Linked DNA regions of Homo sapiens: regions 1 and 3 are each linked to region 2. The links are contacts of gene promoters, found by promoter capture Hi-C in blood cells and fetal thymus (Javierre and others, 2016). All regions are on one chromosome and are shown on one strand. Each heading gives the region's core, a stretch centred on a gene start or on the middle of the fragment in contact. The rest is flanking DNA. Distances are from core to core; before and after follow the strand shown. Region 1 holds the start of FBXO3 (F-box protein 3). Region 2 holds the start of EIF3M (eukaryotic translation initiation factor 3 subunit M). Region 3 holds the start of C11orf91 (chromosome 11 open reading frame 91).

What was found. Contacts are between HindIII fragments. The CHiCAGO score rates a contact against its expected background, and 5 or more counts as called.
Region 1: a contact is called between the fragment with the promoter of FBXO3 here and the fragment with the promoter of EIF3M in region 2, in 1 of 17 cell types (total CD8 T cells). The highest score is 5.7, in total CD8 T cells.
Region 3: a contact is called between a fragment that was not itself captured here and the fragment with the promoter of EIF3M in region 2, in 5 of 17 cell types (non-activated CD4 T cells, naive CD4 T cells, total CD8 T cells and 2 more). The highest score is 11.9, in non-activated CD4 T cells.

Annotation. Positions count from the first base shown.
Region 1 is chr11:33,772,310-33,776,010 of GRCh38, reverse strand. FBXO3 (F-box protein 3) reads left to right here and starts at 1,491. Exons shown (of 11, transcript NM_012175.4): 1 at 1,491-1,617. The coding sequence starts at 1,514. It overlaps FBXO3-DT (FBXO3 divergent transcript), which reads right to left and starts at 1,312. Exons shown (of 3, transcript NR_120550.1): 1 at 1,260-1,312; 2 at 648-757; 3 at 341-563. RefSeq lists silencers at 1,399-1,498, 1,959-2,028, 3,354-3,648 and an enhancer at 1,977-2,477. The HindIII fragment of the contact is 5,455 bases long and covers 347-3,701 here.
Region 2 is chr11:32,582,230-32,585,739 of GRCh38, reverse strand. EIF3M (eukaryotic translation initiation factor 3 subunit M) reads right to left here and starts at 1,909. Exons shown (of 11, transcript NM_006360.6): 1 at 1,811-1,909. The coding sequence starts at 1,852. RefSeq lists enhancers at 1,754-1,903, 1,546-2,198 and a silencer at 2,064-2,123. The HindIII fragment of the contact is 5,112 bases long and covers 1-2,194 here.
Region 3 is chr11:33,700,004-33,703,571 of GRCh38, reverse strand. C11orf91 (chromosome 11 open reading frame 91) reads left to right here and starts at 2,746. Exons shown (of 2, transcript NM_001166692.2): 1 at 2,746-3,327. The coding sequence starts at 2,832. CD59 (CD59 molecule (CD59 blood group)) reads left to right here. Exons shown (of 4, transcript NM_000611.6): 4 at 1-562. RefSeq lists silencers at 2,571-2,810, 2,991-3,080. The HindIII fragment of the contact is 897 bases long and covers 1,563-2,459 here.

The DNA of each region.
Region 1 (3,701 bases), core at 242-2,741, 1.2 Mb before region 2:
AAGATGAGTCAGACTGAGAGTTTACAGTTTGACGAGAGAGACACAGAACAAGTACTTGAAATCCAATTCAATAAATGTTCTTCTAAGCATATGCATAAACAATTTGGAAGCACAGAGATGTAGGCAGAGTTTTTTGTTGCTGTTGTTCTGTTTTGTTGGCTGGGTGGCAGGGGTTATAACTATTAAGCAAAACCATAAATAGAAGGCATTAATGGTATGAAGAATGGAGGAAATGGATTTTTTTGGGGCGGGGCATATCACTTCCACTCTTCCAAATAATTGAGAGAAACTTTCTCCAGGATATGGAAATGTTTGGAGAACTTAGTGACTGATGCATGTATAAGCTTGGAAAATTAACATTTATTGAGTATCTGGCCAGGCACTTTACATAAAGCGTTATCGCCATCCTTAGTTCACCAGAGGAGGGGTGGTTTTAGAGATGAGGGACAGTCTCAGAGAACTTAGGCGTAACTACGCCAGCATTTCACTAGTAGTGAAATAAATGACGGGCGTGTGAAGTCCAGGTCTGTCTGGATTCCCCAAAGCCCCTTACACCATACTACCTTTGGAAAAGCAATGGAAAAGAAGAAATCAGGCAAGTGATGTATGGACCCATTATACTTCCCCCACTCTCATTTTAATATCACCTTGGCAAAGCTGAAGAGCAGACATCTTCGTGCCTCCATCAGTTATGCCCTCTGGGAGTCTCAGTTCATCCCTTCACACGCGGGATACTTAACTCTGCGGGATCTAAACCCTGGCCAAAATAAATTTTAAAGCTGGAAAAAATCCACACTGTACCCTTTGCATTGCCCTAATAGGCTGAAAATAGCCATGATAACCAAATTAAGGGACAGCGGCTGAGACTCAGACTCACTCCTTGTACACATTTTACTTAGGAAGGCGGGGAGGGGCGTGAAGTTAAGCCCTCAACAATTATTTCCTTAATTTGGGAGAAGGGCCTTCAGCTGGCGTCCCTGGCTGATTCTCAGCTCTGCTCTTGCTGAGTGGACAAGTCTCGGAGCGGCCCTGCTGTGTGCGGGGGACAAGCGGGGTGGGGAAGGCTGAGCGGGGAAAACGAGGGGTTCTCGGGTTGGAAAACAAAGAGAAGGAATGGATTTGGGGACCAAGGGCGTGGAGGAGTGTCAGATTTTGAGCGAGGCTTCCTGCATACTGAGTGTAAAATTTCGCAGGAGGAGTTGGGCAGACCGAGGCAGATTTGGCAACAAAAGGGTCCCGGGCTGGGCAAGTTTACGAACCGGGATGCGAGAACAGAGCTGGAGAGATTTGACGCGGAGCGCGAAGAAAGCGGGCTGAACTCGCACTGCGCCGCTGGCTCCCGGCTAGCGGGCGGGGTCTCCAGGGAGCCGCACCTCAGCCCACCCTGAGGGCGGGGCTGGCCCGGCGGTTACATAACAAACCTGTGAGAGCGGCTGGGGGCGGTTCGGGCGCTGGTGGGGGCGGGGCAGGGGCGGGGCCAGGGCGGGGCCAGACCTGCACCGGGCCAGGCAAGATGGCGGCCATGGAGACCGAGACGGCGCCGCTGACCCTAGAGTCGCTGCCCACCGATCCCCTGCTCCTCATCTTATCCTTTTTGGACTATCGGGATCTAATCAAGTAATGGGACGACACGCATGGCAGGGGTGGGGGCATGGGGAGAGGAGGCGGTGAGGCAGGGGGAAAGGGGGTCGGGGCCGCTGACAGGACCCGAGCTTCCGCGACACCAGAAGGTGACGCCAGGGCCGCCCTCATCCTGCGGAGCCACCGGGGACCGGGGCGAGACGGGGGCGGAAAGGGCCTCGCCCTGAGTCTTCCTCCTGTCCTGGGCCCAGGTATGAGAAGCGACGAGATATCTCTCTCCCAGGCCTCGGTGAGGCCCACTTGCAAGAGAAGGAGGTAGTGGCCCTCGTGCCGCACCGCCGCGCTCCGCGGACCCCCGCTGGCCCCGCAGGTGCCCGCCCGGTTGGGGTCAGTCCCTGCTGCTGTGTAAAAGCCCCTGTCCCGGCCAGGCGCTCTTCTCTGCTGGGTCCGGGGCCTGCGGAGTCTGGCGCCGGGGTGGGCAGGTGGGTGAGCGAGAGGAGAAGATAGGCAACCCCTTACTCCCCTGGCGCGACTTCCCCAGCGCCAGAATCGCTGTCCGGGCTCACTTTCGGACTTCAGTGCGTGAGAATTGTTTTGCTGTCAGCATTGCTCCTTACGGTTCGATGTTGGATTTTATGTTTTGGTACTGACTTCCGGTGATGCCATACCGGTGACTATCTTTTCTCCTGGACACCTTGGGTTTCCCACATTACTAGCATCTGTTCCAGAAATAAACACCGGTTGCTGATAAGGGTGGTTCAATGCCCAGTTTCTTCAGAACTTGGGACTGTCTGGGGTGGTGGAAGAAATGGCGCTGCCAGCCCGCCCCCCAGCTGTCAGGATTGTTTACACCCTTGACAGGGGGTGGCATGGCTGTGAGTTTCCTGTGCTACCGTATATATTTGCAGAGGATGCAAAGTCGCCCTCTTAGGATAGGTGGGCGAGATTTGTTTTGTGTTTGGATTAACCATTAGATTCTAGCCATTTGATGATTGTGCCCTGTGTTATTAGAGGTCTTTTTATAAATACAGATTTCTTGGAGCTACAGATAGTTGTTGGCCTAGCTAAGTGGTGATAGAGAGATACCTCAAGTTTTTGGTCACTACCTGTACTGGTCGCTACCTGTACCTGCTAGCAATTTTATTTTTCTAGAAAATACTTACAATTTAACTAACAGTCTCCAACTTTTGATTGCTGCCAGAGTAATCTTTCCAAGACACATCTGGTTGTCATTCTCCTTAAAACCTGTGACACCCCTATGTTTATAGACTATAACCTAAACTTCTGGGGCATTGAAAGCTCTTATCATCTGGCTTGTATATCTAAGGTCCTCCAGGACTTATTTCTCCACCACTATCACATTTGCACCATCCATTCTAACCAAATCAGACCTCTGCCAGCATACAACACACTTGCACTTTCTTTTTTTTTTTTTTTCCTGTGGCTCAAGCTCTCGACCTTGCCTGGAATGCCTTGCCTACCTCTTCTCAACTTGGCAAGGTGGAGAAGATGCCCTCTCTACCTTCTTCCTGCAGAATTGATTTGCCATGTCAGGTAGATGGCGTGCTTCTTGATTGTAAGGGCTGCCTTGCTTATCTTCCTATTCAAAGATTTTTTTTTCCCCGAGGGCTTGCTATGTGCCAGTCTGTTAAGTGTTGAGGGTACAGTAGTGAACAACGCAGATAAGGCAACTCTTATGGAGCTTACAGTCCAGTGGGCAAGCGCATAATTGCAAGAGGTACTAAGTGCTGTGAAGGAAATAGATTGCTCTGTTAAGGAATAGGAAGTGAGAAGTGATCAAATCGGAAGGAGCTGCCATATATGAAGCAGGGCATATGCAGTTCTGGCAGAGGGAAAAGTATGTTCAGAGATTGACGGGACTGCTGAACGGTACTGTTCAACAGCATGGCCTGGTGGAAGATACAGAAGGCTGGCGTTGCTGGAGGTAGGGAGTGACTCACAGACAGTGATGAGATGAGGGTGGTGAGATCATGCAGGACCTTGGGAACCAAGGTGAGGAAGTAAGAGTTTACTTTAAATGCTTTAGGTAGTAATCACAATTTTAAACAGAAGTGACATGATCCCTCTGTAAATGTCTGTGGAAATAAATTGAGTTGAAT
Region 2 (3,510 bases), core at 660-3,159:
ACAGTAACTTCATAGAAGAGTTGGTATTATAAGCAAAATTAAAAAAAGAAAACAAACTGTCACCATGTCAGAGAAAACAAAAATACCTCCAGAAATCATGCTTCATGCTTCTCTATGGAGGAAACAGATACACAGCAAACTTTTTCTAAGAACTATTGAACCACGTTTGCTGTTTTTCTGTCATCCTCACTGCCACAAGTGGTTGTGGAAGCAGCATAAGCAAAGGAAAACAAAAAAAGATAAAGAATTCCATTTAACTCTAATCAAGCTGAGAATTTCACCAAAGTTAAACTAATCCTGAGCAATTTCATATTTCCCTGAAAGGACTGTCTACAGCGATACTGATGTTACAAGAACAGAAGCAGAGCCTGAGAAAAGACACTTTAAGATACGATCAATGACAAGAACTTCCTCCATTCACTTTGTATGTTAAAAAAAAAAAAATTCCAAACACTTTCTCAGTTAACCTAACAGCCAACTGTTGGTAACATGCTTCCATTTCTAATCAGGTATCTTTTTGTCTTTCATATCTTCCTATCTGTGCTTAACCTCCCCATCCTTGACCTTTTCTCCGCCTTTTGCATTTTCCCTTCTTACTTTGCTCTTCAGAGCATCGGAACTGCATTCCTACCATGGGGCGGGGGGAGGAGAGAGGGGGAACTCACTCCCGCAATTCTGTAAGTTGTCTTAGACAAGTAAACTTCCATGCGAAGTTTATGATATCCAATCATTTGGAAGTTACTTCCGTGTTAGTGGAGTAACAGAAATAAAACGACAAAGTTAGGACTTCACAGAAGAATTTTCAGCAATACAAAATTAACTTAAAGAATACGATGTCGTGTTCAACTCCTACCAAATAAGGTTAAACTTTTGTTATGGGGAAAATGAGAACCATCAGCCCTGTATACCAAAGAGCAAACGCCAAACGGGAAATTTAAAAATATCAGGATGGTCCATCAGGTGTATGCCTCACAGAATTTAAGAGCTGAACTGATACCATACTTCCGGGGTACAGAACAACTCTCACCCTCATACAAGTAGGAATAGAAAGCAAGTGTAAAATACGGGTCGTCTTCGCCTGTGATCGCACAGTAATACGGGCGTTTTGATCTTTTTTTTTTTTTTTTTTTTTGAGAGGGACTCTCGCTCTGTCGCCCAGGCTGGAGTGCAGTGGCGCGATCTTGGCTCACTGCAAACTCCGCCTCGCGGGTTCAAGCGATTCTCTTGCCTCAGCCTCGGCAGTAGCTGGGACTACAGGCGCGTGCCACCGCGCCCGGGTAATTTTTTTGTATTTTTAATAGAGACAGGGTTTCACCGTGTTAGCCAGGATGGTCTCGATCTCCTGACCTCGTGATCTGCCCGCCTCGGCGTCCCAAAGTGCTGGGATTAAAGGCGTGAGCCACCGCGCCCGGCCCGGCATTTTGATCTTTAGCACAAAATTACTTTTCCCTACCCTGCTTATGCTAACTACAGATTCACCACCTCCCACTCCGAATGTGGCTGCATTTGACGGACGGAAGCAGACATCATTCCTCATCAGTCTAAAAGTACTATGTCGTCAGAAATGAGTCCCGACGCCGACCAGGGAGCTGGCGGTGAAGCGTCGGGCCCCGCGCTGGGACCGCCGGCCGGCGAGCTGGTGCGAATCGAGGCCAGGAACGCGCGCCCCAGCCACCGGCCTCCCCATTCTCGCGTGTAGAACAGCTGCGGGTGTCAGCCCCGGCCGCCCGGCCCAGGCTCGGCAGCGGTCCCTTGCGCTACTAGGACATCCCCCACCCCACCGTGGCGGCACCCGTAGACCGAAGCACACCTGATCTTCTTCACTGATGTCGATGAAGGCCGGGACGCTCATGGTGCAGGCCCGGGCACAGCGGACACTCCACTCGCAAGACCACGCCGACCGGAAAAGGGAACTGGGCCGCGCGACGCTGCTGGCGCAACTGCTTCCGGGTCACCCTGAGCGGCGACCTGTTGGGGCGGGGCCTTGAGAGCCAATCCTATCGCGCGCTCTCGCCGCGGAATGCAGCAGGGCGTGGCAGACGCGCTCGGGCTGGCCTAGTGGGTGGGACTTACTGGGCCTCCACTCAGCGACGCTTGTCGCGGCCTCCAGTTTTCAGGCCCGTGTAGCTAACTGCATTGATGTTGCCTCCCGCTGGCGCCTCCCTAAGTCCACCTTCCCTTGAAATGTTAAGCTTGTTGGGTCTTACCAAGTATGGATGGGTTTGTGTAGACCTGAAACTCTCCTGTACTGCTGTTGGGAACATAAAATGGTGCAGTCACTTTGCAGAGGAGCGGCAGTTTCTGAAAAAGTTCAGTATCCACCCAGCATATGACCCAGCTATTCTTCTACCCAAACTGTATGTCCGTACAAAGACTTGTACAAGAATGTTCATTGCCGCTTTTAAAAAATAGCAGCTTTGGCTGGGCGCAGTGGATCTCACGCCTGTAATCCCAGCACTGTGGGAGGCCGAGGTGGGCGGATCACTTGGGGTCAGGAACTGGAGACCAGCCTGGGCAACATGGCAAAACCCCGTCTCTACTAAAAATACAAAAATTACCGGGGCATAGTGGTGCGCGCCTGTAATCCCAGCTACTCGGGAGGCTGAGGCAGGAGAATCACTTCAACCTGGGAGAAGGAGGTTGCAGTAAGCCCAGATCATGCCACTGCATTCCAGCCTGGGCGACAGAGCGAGACTCCGTCTCATAAAATAAATACACAATTCAGTAGTTTTTAGTATTTTCAGAGTTGCACAACCATCACTACTATTTAATTTTAGAACATTTTCATCACCTACAAAAGAAACTACCCATCAGCAATCACTCCCCAGACCCCCGGCCCCACCTCTCTCCAGCCCCTGGCAAACACTACATTTTGTCTCTATGAATTTGCCTTTTCTGGACATTTCATGTAAGTGGAATCACAAAATACACGGTGGCCTAAGTCAGACTTACTTCATTTAGCATAATGTTTTCAAGGTTCGTCCATGTATCCCTCCTATATTCCTATTTATTGCTTATAATATTGCATTGTTATGGATATACCACATTGTGTTGATTTGTTCATCAGTTGGTGGACACTTGGGTTGTCTCCATTTTTTGGCTATTATGAATAATGTTTCCATGAACGTTAGTGCACAAGATTTTGTGTGTACGTATATTTCTCTTAGGTATGTACCTATGAGAGGAATCAGTGGCTTATTTAGTAAATTTATGTTTAGCTTTTTCAGGAGACAGTTTCCAAAAAGTTAACACTTTATTTTCAATAGCCAAAAAAAAGGAAACAACCCAAATGTTCATCAATAGATGAATGAAGTGGATCAAAAAATTGTTATACATCTGCTTAATGGAATACTGCTGTGCAACAAAAAAGGATGAATTATTGATACATGCAAAAACACAGATGAATCTTTTTTTTTTTTCAGTCTCTTCAGCCTGGGTGACAAAGTGAGTGAGACTCCATCTCTTAAAATAAAAGCTTGATTTTTTTTCTTTAGTTGACAATCCCAAAAT
Region 3 (3,568 bases), core at 762-3,261, 1.1 Mb before region 2:
ACCCTGATCAACGAAGAGGGACTTGTGTCTCTCAGTTGGTTCCAAATGAAACCAGGGAGCAGGGGCGTTAGGAAGCTCCAACAGGATGGTACTTAATGGGGCATTTGAGTGGAGAGGTAGGTGACATAGTGCTTTGGAGCCCAGGGAGGGAAAGGTTCTGCTGAAGTTGAATTCAAGACTGTTCTTTCATCACAAACTTGAGTTTCCTGGACATTTGTTTGCAGAAACAACCGTAGGGTTTTGCCTTAACCTCGTGGGTTTATTATTACCTCATAGGGACTTTGCCTCCTGACAGCAGTTTATGGGTGTTCATTGTGGCACTTGAGTTTTCTTGCATACTTGTTAGAGAAACCAAGTTTGTCATCAACTTCTTATTTAACCCCCTGGCTATAACTTCATGGATTATGTTATAATTAAGCCATCCAGAGTAAAATCTGTTTAGATTATCTTGGAGTAAGGGGGAAAAAATCTGTAATTTTTTCTCCTCAACTAGATATATACATAAAAAATGATTGTATTGCTTCATTTAAAAAATATAACGCAAAATCTCTTTTCCTTCTAAGGGCCTTTAATATGTAATAACAAGAGCTAATGTTGAACACAAGCCATTGCCAGGTACTTAAACTGTCTCACTTAGTCTTGCCAACCTAAGCAAGTAGATGCCATTACTATTCCCATTATATTGATGAAAAAATGAGGTTGAGAAAGGTTCAGCCGCACAGCCAAATACATAGTGGATCCAGGGTTTGGTCCCAAGTCTTGAGTCCAAAACCCTGGTTCTTACCATTACTGTGGTTCTGTAGGGGTGAAAAAATTTTTCTTCTAATCTCTTAGGTTCAGAGCCTGGGGCCTGAGAATTAAACTGACAAAGACAGATTAACAGAAGACAAAGTTTATTACGCAGGTACATGGGGTTCTTACAGAAACAAAGTGAAAACCCAAAGAAGTGGCTTGAGAGCTTATATACAATTTTAACAATGGGCGATTGTAGAAAAGTGATAAGACAAAGGAAAAGAGGTTTGAGCTTCTTGGGCAGTAAATTATGGGAAGTTAAATATGTGGGGGAAACTAATGGAAGATAAGGGTATTTTTTATTTTATTTTATTTTATTTATTTTGAGACAGGGTCCTGCCTTGTCACCCAGGCTGGAGTGCAGTGCTATGATTGTGGCTCACTGCAGCCTCAACCTCAGCCTCCTTGGTTCAAGAAATCCTCCCACTTCAGCTCCTGAGTGGCTCCAGGCAAATGCCACCACACCTGGTTAATTTTTTAAATTATTTTATAGAGACAGAATCTCGCTATGTTGCCCCTGGCTGTTCTCAAACTCTTGGCCTCAAGAGATCCCACCTCAGACTCCCAGAGTGCTGGGATTACAGGCTGGGTGCTGAGCTATCGCACATGGCCTGTATTAGCCATAGACTGAGGGGAAATACATTTTCTTGAGAGCCTCAGCCTAGTGATCACTTGTATGAATAAACAATGATGGGTGGCTGCCAAAGTCAGAGAGCAAATACTGCGTGTGACAACTAAGTGTGGGAAGCTCAGTGTGGGAAGAAAAAGCTTCCCAGTTTCAGACATGCCCCTTAGTAGGGACAGCTGCCTCTTGTGTTTGGACAAAGTGTCCAAGTTCAAGTGTTTCACACACACACTGTTCCGTCTTCTGTTTGATCACAACCCTATGAGGCAGCCTGGTTTTCTTATTTCTATTTTATGGAAAACCTACTTAAAAGTCAAGCAACTTGTCCAAGGCTACCCAGCTTGAATATCTGACTCTCTCCACTTTGCTGCTACACACACACACACACACACACACACACTTTGCACTGTGTGTGCAGATACATATGCATATATATATTTAACTTGTGAAGCTGATACTGACTCTTTAACTGCCCTCCACCCATCACTAGTCATACCAGTGATCATTAGGCAGAGGCTCTCAAGAAAATGTATTAGTTATTTCCCCTCAGTCTATGGCTAATACAGGTTACTCACATAAATGAGCTGTCATGTCCTTTGGACAAAATGTCCAAATCGCTCATAAGCAATGGGTGAAGTATTTGAGGTAGGGCGGACAGGATTTCCTTTTGGTGGTTAGCTCGTTGCCTGTTAGCTCCTGGTGATATCTGTGTTTGGAAGAGAACTAAACTGCATTTCACTGAAAACACTCCTTCAGGTCTATTACAAACCAGATGAGGATCCCCTTTTCTAGAATCTTCCTCAACACTGCTAACGTTTGGCAGATACATAGGTTGGCTCTAACAGCCATTCCCAATCAATCCTCTTCTCCTTTGTCTGCCTCCCACAGTAGTGGATGAAAAATCAGACACTGATTTTCTCAGACTTCTTTGCTGTGGGCGCGGCCAGTGAGGCAATGAGGTAAGTCTGCTGGTGCAGGGGCCAGGTTTCTAGGAAATACTTTTCTCCCTCATGGGAGAAAGAGAGGAAGCCTGAAGTAAGCTTTCTTCTGCAGCCCTGGCCCGCTGCCTGTTCTGGATGAGGGTATGCTGGGATATGACAACGGAAGCCAGCGGGGTCGCAGAGCAAGAGCGAGGCGGTGGGCGGAGTCGAGGGACGGGAGGCGAGGCGAGGCGAGCCAGGGGGCGTGGCTTTCTAACTGCGGGGTGCGGCCAGCCGAGGTGGGCGGGGCCGCGTTCCGGGACGTGGTCGTCCGGGCTTTGGAACCCCGCCTGTTAGGGGCCGGGCTGAGGCGAAAGGGTGGGGCCGCGCTCCATCGGGGCGGGGCTTGTGGAACCTCGAAACCCCGGCGACTCGGGGCCTGAGCGCGCGTCTCCCGGCGCGGGGTTCCTCCCACGCAGACCCTCATTCAAACGATGCCAAAGGGGCGGCGCGGCAGCCACAGCCCCACCATGAGCCAGCGGTCGGCTCCGCCCCTCTATTTCCCGTCCCTGTACGACCGCGGCATCTCCTCGTCCCCGCTCAGCGACTTCAACATCTGGAAGAAGCTCTTCGTGCCGCTGAAGGCGGGCGGGGCGCCAGTGGGCGGGGCGGCGGGGGCCCGGTCCCTGTCCCAGGCGCTCCCCGCCCCGGCGCCCCCGCCCCCGCCACCACCCGGCCTGGGTCCCTCCAGCGAGCGCCCCTGGCCCTCGCCCTGGCCCTCCGGCCTGGCCTCCATCCCCTACGAGCCTCTGCGCTTCTTCTACTCACCGCCGCCGGGGCCTGAGGTGGTTGCCTCGCCCCTGGTCCCCTGCCCCTCGACCCCCAGGCTCGCCTCTGCCTCCCACCCGGAGGAGCTCTGCGAGCTGGAGATCCGGATTAAGGAGCTGGAGTTGCTCACCATCACTGGGGACGGCTTCGACTCCCAGAGCTGTGCGTGACCTCGCCAGGGCCACCGAGCCCAGCCTTAGCCTGCCCTAGCTCCCTCCTTGGCTCCGTGCCCCGACCCGAAATGTAGCCTGGTTTGACTCCAGCCCCCAGTAGTCCCAGATCCAAAATCTATCCCCTAGCACCCAGACTCCCTTATCCTGGACTTAACCGACTCCTCCCCCCACCACAGATCTGAACTTCATGAGCCTCTTAGTCCCAAACTCCATCCTCCCTCCGTCCTAAA